Regions from separate parts of the Homo sapiens genome. Here region 2 is linked to region 1. Evidence: promoter capture Hi-C in 16 types of primary human blood cells and fetal thymus (Javierre and others, 2016). All regions are on one chromosome and are shown on one strand. The core of a region is centred on a gene start or on the middle of the fragment in contact, and the rest is flanking DNA. Distances in the headings are between cores, read along the strand shown. Region 1 holds the start of TMEM38B (transmembrane protein 38B). Region 2 has its middle 23 kb from the start of FSD1L.

What was found. The method cuts DNA at HindIII sites, captures the fragments that hold promoters and counts their contacts. A CHiCAGO score of 5 or more calls a contact.
Region 2: a contact is called between a fragment that was not itself captured here and the fragment with the promoter of TMEM38B in region 1, in 3 of 17 cell types (M2 macrophages, megakaryocytes and M1 macrophages). The highest score is 6.5, in M2 macrophages.

What each region holds. Positions count from the first base shown.
Region 1 is chr9:105,691,518-105,697,608 of GRCh38, forward strand. TMEM38B (transmembrane protein 38B) reads left to right here and starts at 3,024. Exons shown (of 6, transcript NM_018112.3): 1 at 3,024-3,255. The coding sequence starts at 3,144. RefSeq lists a silencer at 2,858-3,127. The HindIII fragment of the contact is 6,405 bases long and covers 829-6,091 here.
Region 2 is chr9:105,421,880-105,427,970 of GRCh38, forward strand. It overlaps a transcript of SLC44A1 not described here. Among named protein-coding and RNA genes, the nearest start is that of FSD1L, 23 kb to the right of the region's middle. The HindIII fragment of the contact is 744 bases long and covers 3,392-4,135 here.

The sequences.
Region 1 (6,091 bases), core at 1,774-4,273:
GCGGTGGCTTACGCAGTAATCCCAGCACTTTGGGAGGCTGAGCAGGTGGATCACCTGAGTTCAGGAGTTCGACCAGCCTGGCTAGCCTGGCCAACATGGTAAAAACCCGTCTCTACTAAAAATACAAAAAATTAGCTGGGTGTGGTGGCAGGCACCTGTAATCCCAGCTACTCGGGAGGCTGAGGCAGGAGAATTGCTTGAACCTGGGAGGTAGAGGTTGCAGTGAGCCATGATTGTGCCACTGCACTCCAGCCTGGGCAACAAGAGCGAAACTCAGTCTCAAGTAAACAAACAAACAAACAAACAAAACAAAACGAAAAAACACCCCACAGAACTCATTTTTGGATATTAATACAATTAGACCAGTTTGGCTTCCTAATGAATAAGCTATACTTTGTAAATTGGATTCATTTTATCACCAATAATTATGTAATTTTGTATACTGCTTCCAAAAGTCAGGAAAACTTTGAATCTTCACATGTAATTCTCCCAAATCTTGCCTTTCCTTCTCACCAATTTAAAGGTAATTGGTAATTAAAATGCAATTGGTCCATTTAATGTAAAACTTCCTAATTGTGGACTCTAAGGTACTTTAAAAAGTTCAATAGCATGGTAATTTAAAGGTAAGAAGGAAAGGGGTCTTTCCATCCTCCATTTCCTCCTACAATGCTCATTTTAATAGACTAAATAACTCAACCACTGACCAGAAGCAAATACGGTGAGCGCATTTAAAATGTAGATGGAACTTGCCTTTTTTGTGAGATTAGGATTTAATTTCCCCTAGACCTTTATAAGGAAATTTCTTTAGGCTCTAGGCAGATAGGACCAAGCTTATTCTTACTGTTTTGAAATGCAACAATTTTCAAATTATCTTTAGAGTCTGAGATAATTAATTCCTTTCTATTGGAATTATTCTGTTTAAGCAAGTAAAGTGCTTGATTTACTTCCTTAAAAAAACCTCTGATGTTATTCATTTTGCCTTATTGATGTTAATAATGGATTTAATGGTACCCCAGAATAATACTGGTATAGACACACAATTCAGTAGTGTCTTAAAGATTACATCATATATTTTTTTAAGTCCAAAGACTAACCATATATTTTGCAAAATTTAAGACTGTTAAAATGTAAAATATTTAAAGAAATAATATCCAGGCTGGGTGTGAGTGGCTCACGCCTGTAATCCCAGCACTTTGGGAGGCCAAGGCGGGCGGATCATGAGGTCAGGAGTTCCAAACCATCCTGGCCAACATGGTGAAACCCCGTCTGTACTAAAAATACAAAAAAAACGTGGTGGCACGTGCCTTTAATCCCAGCTACTCGGGAGGCTGAGGCAGGAGAATCGCTTGAATCAGCGAGTTGGGGGTTGCAGTGAGCCGAGATCGCGCCACTGCACTCGTCTGGCAACAGAGCAAGATTACATATCAAAAAAAAAAAAAAAAAAAAAAAAAAAAAACAAGAAAAGAAAAAAAAGAAGTAATATCCAAACTCTGAGCCTAAATTCGCAAAACTAAAATTCCAAAAATAAGCGAATGTGTAAAAAGTATGGAAAGAACAGACTTAAACAGGAAAGTATAAATATTCACAGGTGGTTTTTTTCCCCTTAGTTTTGCTAGAAAGTGTGCTACAGGTCTAAAGACTTTTCTCTACGGGAAGTGCTTGCTTAGAAAACCACACGTGAAAAGTATTTGAACAAGTCTATTCTTTCTTGATAAGTAATGAAGTGTAGAGATTTACTACAATTTTCCTACGTTTTAAACACTTAGTGTTTAGGGCAGTATTTCTGACATCCAGCAAAATGCTGGTTACATAGTAGGCACGCAAAAAACATTTTGTTAAATGAATTAAAATTAATGAATACATATTCAGATAAAAAAAATTCTCCTTTTGCAGTGCATACACCCGTGAAGCTGTCACCTACCTAGCAGCTAATCACGTTTCTCCAATTTCCTGGTGCCAGCATAATCTGTTCACACATCAAATAAGTGTGCCAAGCTAGTTTTTTTTCTTACCCAAACCTATTCCTTCTTGTTTCCTATTTATCAGAATGCAACCACAATCCTCCTACTCACCCGTTCCTCATTTTATTTGACAAATGCTTCCTTTCCCGCCTGTACAGACTGACACTCACTGACGATATTCTGCTTCTACCCATGTTTCCCACAATTGGTCTCAATTTCTGCTGCCACAGCCTCCACTACCTTTTGCTTGGACCAGTGAATACCCTCTGATTTTCCGTTGTCAGTCGCTTCTCATCAATCTATTCTTAATCTTGTTGCTTCGTTGCACCTCTACTCCCTCACCTTCCACCAAACAACCCAGTTAGCGTAGAGATTAGGAGAAGAGATTCTGGCTCTGAGCTTAACATAGTGATTGATCAAGAATTTAACCTCTGGAGCCAAACTGCCTGGCTTTGTCTGCCATTCGAGGACTTTTCCCAACCTCATTTCTCACTTTGTAGTCAACCCAAAACACCTCCCTCCATCTCCCACCTAGCTTGTGTTTCTCACTTAACTTTTAAAGTCCAGCTCACATGTCACTTTACTCACTTCCCAGAATTGTAATCTTCGTTTCGAACTGCTCTCGCACGGCAGCTATACTTCTCAGTACCTGCTTTTGTACCATTATGTGCGTTTTTTCTCTTTTTATAAAAAATCTCTTTCAGGGAACGCATAGTTCTTGAGGTCAGGATATTATTGTTTTATTTTTATATCTCCAGTAAGTCACAGTGTGACTTGCACTGTGGTTGCTCGATAAATGTTAGGTGAATGACATCAATTTACAGAAATAAATCCAACTCTGAGCGTCTCCCCTTGAGGACCGTGTTTTGTTCATCTGCACGCTCTCCAGGTCCTGCACTGCGCCCAGGACCAAGAAGACGCTGGACCCTTACTAGGAGAACCGAGGCAAGAGCCGGCTGGAGCCGCGGGGAACCCGCTCGCCCCGCCCACCCGCCTAGCGCCGGTGAGCCTGCGGCTCCCGCGAAGCGCGGCCCCGCCCCCTCGGCGCCAGGGCGCACGCGCGGAGCTGGAGCCGGCGCGGAGGAGCGGGCGGCCGCGGCTGTGCCCTCTCCTACTCCTCACCGCGCGAGCGCGGGGAACCAGTAGCCGCGGCTGCTTCGGTTGCCGCGGTCGGTGGTCGTTATGGATTCTCCATGGGACGAGTTGGCTCTGGCCTTCTCCCGCACGTCCATGTTTCCCTTTTTTGACATCGCGCACTATCTAGTGTCAGTGATGGCGGTGAAACGTCAGCCGGGTGAGTGCGGGGCGCCGCGGGCCGGACCCCTCAGAGTGCTCCTGACGGCGAGGACCGTCTAAGTCGGGTGGGTCGGGTGGGTCGGGTGGGCGGCTGAGTGGCCGCTAGCCCAGACAGTTCGATGGTAGAGTTGGAGGGGCGCCAAGGGCCGGTTGGTCTGACTTACTGAGTGCAGATGGGGAAACAGCGTGGGGGAGGACGGAGGCTCTAGTACTCCTCAAAGGAGGCGTGACCTGGGGTCCGCGAGGCCGTAGCCTGGGCGAGCAGGGCCGACCTTGCCAACCGCCCGCAGAAGTCCCAGGACTGACAGAAGCTGCCGCAGCGTTTCGGAACCACAGATATCCGCGCCAGCCCAGGGCTTGGGCGGCCTCCTCGCGGTACCGCCACTCGCTCGCAGTGTCGCCACTCGCTCGCAGTGTCGCCACTCGCTCGCAGTGTTTGAAAGTCATGTGAGGAGACAGCAGGTTTCTGACTCAGTCTCTTGGAGTAATAGATGGTTGCGGACTACTCTCCAGTTATGAAAGTTGTACAAGCACTGAAACAAAAAGCCTCCTGTAGCCAGACCAGGATTCCCCTTCACGCAGTGTCCTAACACCCTGCCTAGCATGTGAGAAGCGAGTGCGTTCCCCTTTTCACAGTCACGACGGACACTGTACAAGCAAGAGTTACCTGGCGTAGTTTCACTATCTGCAGAATGGGGATATAGTCTTGAAACAGCATTTTGAGTTCTTTTAGCAATGCGATCAAGGGACAGTAGTTGTATTTTATTGGATTTTACACCAGGGTGCGTTTGCTCTAATACTGCTTTACTTTTGTAGTTATTCTACTGTGCTTTTAGTTGTATGGACCTCTTCTTTCTTTGAGGTCAGACATTTCTTTGCCTACTTTCTTTGTGTTCTTGCTGTCTTTCATCTGCCTTGCCCTACGGATAGTTGATGAGTGAGGTCTGGAGGATGATGCTGTATCTTTCTTATGGACTACTTACTGGTTTTAAAAAATCCTTAGACCTCAGAAATATTTTTCATTTATGTTGAAGTTTGTAGCTCAGTTTAAATCGTTGGTACAAATTTTGACCTGGATGAGGATGGTATTACTGCATTAAAGTAGAACACATTATCTGCATAAGATATTATTTCTTTGATTTGAAAAAAGTAAGTTTTGTTGCTACTACATGTTCAGAATTTGATTAAAAAAATTTTTTTTTGTATAGGCTGAATCAGATGTTCACATTGTGGTCCAGGGACCCATGGGATTCTCTGACACTGCCAGTTTAAAATTACTTTCGTAATAATATGCAGATGTTATCTTTTTCACTCTCATTTTTTCAGAAGTGTACAGTGGAGTTTTCCAGAGGCTACCTGAGTTGTGATACTGTAACAGAAGGAAGTAGATATGAGAATCTAACAGTTTTCTATTTGAAGCCAGACATTTGTTAGAATGTACACAGTGTGATTCTTCTCACTAAATGTTTTTTGTTTTGGAAAAGTTATTTTTCATAAAGAATACATTATCATTATTATTATTATTATTTTTGAGACGGAGTCTCTCTGTCGCCCAGGCTGAAGTGCAGTGGCGCGATCTCGGCTCAGTGCTGCAACCTGTGCCTCCTGGGTTTAAGCGATTCTCCTGCCTCAGCCTCCGGAGTAGCTGGGAGGCGCCTGCCACCAAGTTCGGCTAATTTTTGTATTTTTAGTAGTGGAGACGGGGTTTCGCCATGTTGGCCAGGCTTGAAGAATACATTATTTATGTTAACATTTAATACATTTACTTTTTAAAAAATGAAAACATGAAGAACAATTGTTGCATAGTGGACAGGTCTATGCAGTCCTATCCCCAAAGGCTGAGGAAGCTGAGAGGCTGAGGAATCCAGTTTCTTAGAAAGAAACCTTTAAAAGGGACTTAAGAACAGAAGCCATGTCTTGGGTGGCCCCAAGGAGATGGTGGATCACCCCATTACCCGACCCCCAACCCCCAACCAGAGATGTGTAGGACAGTTGCTTAAGAGCAGGATTTATGGTAAGTGAAATAGCGTCAAGGTTGTTTGACCTAAGGGCAAGATCGGTAAGTGTATACTTTTACACAAGGAACAGTAGATAAAATATAAATCTTAGAGGCAATCCCAGAACTGGGGTTAATCATAAGTCAACATGGCGGATGTTGGAGTTGCTTTAGCCGCCACAACTATTTAAAATTTTCTCAGTTATAATTTCTAAGATGCTAAGTATTGATACTTGTAGCCAACATAAACAAAACCTTTTGGGGTTGTCAAGAAATTTAAGTCCGATTTTTTAAAAGATGTAATTCACATAGAATCTGTTCACCATTTTTAATAAAAAGTTCTGTGTTTTTGGACAGACACATACAGTCATTCAACTACCATCACAATCAAGATACTGAACGGTTTCCTCACCCACCCTAAATTCCTTCCTGCACTTTTGTGTAAGCTGTCCCCTATCCTTGGCAAGCATTAATCTGTTTACTAATTTTTAGGGATGTAGAGGGCTCCTGAGATTCCATAATTTGAGAACCACGTGATTATTGAATACTTATATAGTATCATACAGTACCAGTACTTGTAAGGAGGTAAAAATGATGGAATTCAGACACAAGAGTGAACAGTGTACCTGTTTAGCCTTTTACCCGAAGTGTGTTAGACTGCCCATTTCCTTTGACAGTTCTATTATTGGTCTTCAATATCTTGCCATTCTGATGATCAGAAAGCAATTTTTCATTTATGTTTGTCATGGTACTGATGTGTTTGTGCCTCTTATTGGTCATTTGTATTTCATGTAAATTGCTTAATTTTTTTTTGTCCATTTTCTTATTGGGCTGTAGG
Region 2 (6,091 bases), core at 2,514-5,013, 270 kb before region 1:
CCCAGCCAGGAATCTGCTTTGAATTCCTTCAGCACACTGGTGCATTGTCAGTATTTTTCAGTCTTGCACAGGCCTAACTTTTCCAGTAAGTTCGGACCTCTGGTAGAAGTGACTACAGTACTGAGCATACTCAAGTGTTTCACTGAGTGCCAGTTGAGAGAGGTGACAGCGTTAGGTTGGACTCTCCTACCTGAGTGATGACAATAAGGAAGTCCACCAACTTCCTTTTTATCCTCAAGGTCAGAGTTACATCTAGCAACTTAGGTACTCAAGCCAAGTAGTTAGAAATTTCCCCTTAAATCAGCAGGGTGGAAGCTGGTCCCTCTGTACTGCACAGAAAGGGGCCCTCATGATCTCATGATGCAGGACTCCTGCCCTGACCTTGGGCCTCCTGCTCCATCCTTTTTTTTTTTTTTTTTTTTTTTTTTGAGACAGAGTCTTACTCTGTAGCCAGGCTGGAGTGAAGTGGCACCATCTCGGCTCACTGCAACCTCTGCATCCCGGGTTCAAGCAATTCTCCTGCCTCAGCCTCCTGAGTAGCTGGAACTACAGGCGCGTGCCACCACACCTAGCTAATTTTTGTATTTTTAGTAGAGACGGGGTTTCACCATGTTGGCCAGGATGGTCTTGATCTCTTAAACTGGTGATCTGTCCCTTCAGCCTCCCAAAGTGCTGGGATTACAGGTGTGAGCCACTGTGCCCAGCCCCATCCTTTATCAGCGGCCATGAGACAGATCCCTGGATAGGACAGACCTACCTCATATGCTGGAGAATTGCTGTGGCCATTTGGCTAATTAGAGGGCCAAATTTGCATTGTAAAATGGTACCCACTAAATTATAATTCCCTGGGGGCAAAGCCTATTTTCAGTGTCCTACTTCTGGTTTGCGTGAAGTTGAACATTTTTTCTTACAAACTCTCAGTGGCACCACCAATTTAAATAAAGAGGGAATTTTAGCTTATCTTGTCTGGTGTCCAGAATCAAACAAGTTTGTGGGTAGAATATCCAAGTCACTCATGTTAAAAACTCTAGAGTTCTCCATTACACTTCCTTCTCCCCGATCATCTCCTAACCCCTAGCAAGGAGCAAAGTTAGATTTATGTCAGGCCCTGTGTGGGACATAGTAGGTACTTATTGAATGAACAAAGGAAAACTGGGACGGAAGGAAAGAGGGAGGGAGACAGAATTTGAGTGTTTGAAATCTACTCTTATGTTAACAGTGTGAGGAAACAGCTCTTTTGAAAGTCATTTGGAAACGTGTATTAAAAATCTCAAGAATGGGCCAGGCGTGGTGGCTCACGCCTGTAATCTCAACACTTTGGGAGGCCAGGGTGGGCGGATCACCTGAGGTCGGGTGGGCGGATCACCTGAGGTCAGGAGTTCGAGATCAGCCTGACCAACATGGTGAAACCCTGTCTCTACTAAAAATACAAAAATTAGGCGGGTATGGTGGCACATGTCTGTAATCCCAGCTGGTCCAGGAGGCTGAGGCAGGGAGAATCACTTAAACCCAGGAGATGAAGGTTGCAGTGAGCCGAGATTGCCCCATTGCACTCCAGCCTGGGCAACAGAGCGAGGCTCGGTCTCATAAAATAAAATAAAATAAAATCTCAAGAATGTGCACATTTTTATCCAGCAATTCTGTGTTTAGAAATTAAGGACATGTGAAAAGATTTTGCTGCAAATCAGACTATTGTTCCTTGTTATAAAATATTGCAGCCAACCTGAATACCCAACAATAGAGAATCAGGTGAATGAATTATAATACATCTAAACCGCTTCTTCCTCTAACCTTTCATATCTCAGTAAATAGTAACACTGTTAAACCAGTTGTTCAAGCTGGTAACCTAGAATCATTAAATTTCCCTTTCTTTCAACTTGTCATTTTGAGTCTTGCCATTTTCCAAAATATACAAGGAGTCATCTTATAGATGTATTAACTTATGAGAGCAATAGATGTCATCAAGCCTAAAAGCCAATCTATCAAGAAAATCTGAATGCTTTTAAGGGTTTACTCACCATGGATATAGAAGGAAACATTGTTCAAGTAACCAGGTAAGTGGGTGTTGATTCCAACATCATGGAAGATGAAATTAAATTAATTGAGAGCCATAGGGAAATATGGACAAGGAAAAATTAAAAATAATAATATAGGGCTGCATACATAAAACACATATGTACAGTATTGTACTTTATGGATGATTTAAGAGATTTTTCAGAGTTAATTTTGATTAGATGCAATCAGTACAATCTTTAGATCCTGAACACCAGGCTCCCTGCTCTTGCCCTCCTCTCTCTGGTCCTCTTCCATGGGGCAAGGAGTCCACCATGGGATTAAGGGGACAGGCCCACCCTAAGCCTAATACCACTCTCCAGAATCCTAGTACCCTAGAACTCCCTCCCAAGACAAGGCCTGTATGAGTTTCTTCTCCAGATACTTCTTCCTAAGGATGGATACTGGCTGTGATTGTAGCAGGAGATGTGGCTGGAGCTTGCCCTTGTGGGCTCAGGTGTCCACAGGTAAGCGTGAGCAGCCCCTCCTAGTGTGGGCTGGGGCGAGGAGTGGGAAGAGAATGGGAGCAGAGTCTTCCATTTGTCCTCTTGCCTCAGACCTCACTAATGTTAGTAGTCATCCTGAATGCAATGTTTACTGCTAACTAGTCATACTAACTAACTTTCTCAGTCCCATATAGGATATGATCCCATTAGATCTCAACTTCAACTATTATATCAACAATGGTGATAAATAATTAGTATTTTAAAAGATAAGCAAAAATAAGAAAATTGGTTGGGTACAGTGTCTCACGCCTGTAATCCCAGCACTTTGGGAGGCCAAGGCAGGCGGATCACTTGAGGTCGGGAGTTCAAGACCAGCCTGGCCAACAAGGTGAAACCCCATCTCTACCAAAAGTACAAAAATTAGCCAGGCGTGATGGTGCACACCTGTAGTCTCAGATACTTGGGAGGCTGAGGCAGGAGAATTGCTTGAACCCAAGAGGTGGAGGTTGCAGTGAGCCGAGGTCAGACCATTGCACACTCCAGCCTGGGCAACAGAGTAAGACTCCATCTCAAAAAAAAAAAAAAGAAAAGAAAGAAAGAAAGAAAACTAACTACACTCACATTTTGTTAACTTAAATAACCATGGTAACACCTCACAGATTTTTAAACACATATATTTGGAATATATGGTAAATATGTATGTAGTATATATTCATATTTTAAAAACAAAAATGATTGTATTACCATAAAACCTACTTTTTTCACTTAAAGTTATATCATGTACAACATTCTATGTCAGTAATACCCATCGAACACACTATTTTTGGTGACTAAATGGCATTCCATTATATAGATTCCTTAATGCACACATACTATTGTACTACACAGTACTAAGCTTTGACATATACATTGTTAAACATGGTGCATACAGTTTGAAGGGGGAAACAGGTATTAACCAAACAGGAAAAAATACCTGAGCATAATTTGTGATGAAATGTCGTAAAGGAAAAGAACAAAATACTATGAGAGAAAATAATAGAGGTACATAATGTAGTTGCGGAAAGATCTGTTTGAGGGAAATAAGTTTGGTCTTGAAGGATGACGAATTTGGCATGTAAAAAGCTGAGGAAGAACATTCTAGGCAGAGAGAACTGTATATTTGGGGCCAGGTGTAGTGGCTCACGCCTGTAATCTCAGCACTTTGGGAGGTCGAGGCGGGCAGATCACCTGAGGTCAGGAGTTCGAAACCAACCTGGCCAACATGGTGAAACCCCGTCTCTACTAAAAATACAAAAATTAGCCGGGCGTGATGGCGGGTGCCTGTAATCCCAGCTACTTGGGAGGCTGAGGCAAGAGAATCGCTTGAACCTGGGTGGCAGAGGTTGCAGTGAGCCGAGATCATGCCACTGCACTCCAGCCTGGGCGGCAGAGCAAGACTCTGTCAAAAAACAAACAAACAAACAAAAAACCCTGTATATTTGGGAGCCTTGAGGCAGAAAATTCTTACTGGAAAGATGGTCACTGGGACTCGTAATCAGCAAGGCTGGGACAGATGAAGCTGGAGAGCTTCCACGCCATGCAAGGTGTTTTGCATTTTCAATCTGTGTAAGTAACATGATCTGATTTATATCTTAGAAAGCTTACTCTGCCTGTTCTGTGTAGGAGAATGGGTTGGGGCTCTGATGTAAGATGAAAGACTAGTTAGATGAGTATTTCAGTAGTCCAAAGGAGATGATGGGGACATATAGGAGAATATTTGTGTAATTTGGCCTTTCTATATAAACCATTTAATACTTCAAAATAAAATCTCAAATTTTCTGGGCTATATAATGCATTACTAATTCCACTAGGTGGCAATGGCATAGTTGTGAAGCAACACTGGAGAATGTCCTGGGGTTACTCAGTGCACTGCATTATTTCTAAGGTTATATTTTTTCAATGTTTGACCCTTGATTTACATTGACATTTACATTCCCTTTAAGTTCCAAAAATGTAATATATTTTACAGTTCTTGTTTTAAAATTATAATTTCAATAACTCCCTTGACTGGGAGAATGTGAAGGTCTTTGCCCACACATTTTTGGTTCCCCACTATTTCTTTGCATCTACTTAAAAAATAACAATAATGAAATAATATCAATTGCTATTTCTTGAGCAGCTTTTAGGAGTGAGTTATCATGCTGAGTATTTATATACATTACCTCATTTACTCATGCAGAGTAGATGTATTTCTTCTCATTTATAGACAAGAAAACAGAGACTAGGGAAGATTGGTAATTTGCCCAAATATTATCTGCCAGAACCTGAATTCAAGCCCAGTCTCTATAAACAAATTATTAAGTGGATAAATTGGTAAATAAGCAAATAAATGAGTAAGTAAACAGGATGATTATACACAGGTGAATTGAATAAATTGCTCATTATAGATAAAATATTAGTTACAACCAAGTAAAAAATATAACCCAAAATATGCAAGCATGACAAAATAATATTCTCATGACCCAAAGGTAAAGACAAGATACATATTAAATAATTCCTATCTTCTGTTTTTCCTTTTCCTTTTTTTTTTTTTCCTCGAGACAAAATCTTGCTTTGTTGCCCAGGCTGGAGTACAGTGGTGCGATCATGGCTCCCTCCAACCTCCGCCTCCTAGGCTCAAGCAGTTCTCCCATCTCAGCCTCTGGAGTAGCTGGGACTACAGGCCCACCGCGCTCAGCTAATTTTTTGTATTTTTTAGTAGAGGCAGTGTTTCACCATGTTAGCCAGGCTAGTCTTGAACTCCTGAGCTCAAGCGATCTACTCGCCTTGGCCTCCCAAAGTGCTGAGATTAAAGGCGTGAGCCACTGCACCTGGCCTATCTTCTCTTTCCCTTAACATATTAGAATTTCCCAATGGTGTTAAAACTTCCTTGAAAGCAGGACCAAGTTATAATATTCTTTCATTTGAATGTACTATATTCTATTCAATAATTCTCCTATAATTGAATTCAGCAATTTCCTCTCAAAATTAAGGGATTATTAATAATGCTATAATGATCATCTTTGTATAGAAATATGATGTCTTTAACTTATTTTTTTATAGAGACAGAGGTCTCACTACGTTGCTCAGGCTGGTCTCAAACTCCTGGGCTCAAGCAAGTCTCCTGCCTCAGCCTCCCAAAATGCCAGGATTCAGGGGTGAGCCACTGCACCCGGCCTCAGAAATATGATTTTTAATAGTGGAAGTATATTCCCTTTTATTAAACTTTTATTTATAATCTTTTTATTATAGAGATATCTTTGCCACCCTGCTAATTCTTTCCTTTAGATAGACTTCTGGAAAGGGAATTACTACATCAAGTGGTGAAGGCACTCTATGAATGTTGATACATATTGCCAAATTGCTCTCCAGAAAGGCTCTACCAATCCTTTGTACTAAAGTCTATGAATGTCACCATTTTCCACATCCGGCAGATACTCATATCATCATTCTTATCACCCTTAATAATAACGGCAAAAGATGACAGCCCTTTGTTATTTTAATTTGTATTTTTTAGTAATTTATTAGTCCTTTATGTTTCCTCTTCCGTAAATTCTGTATTCATGTCCTTTGCC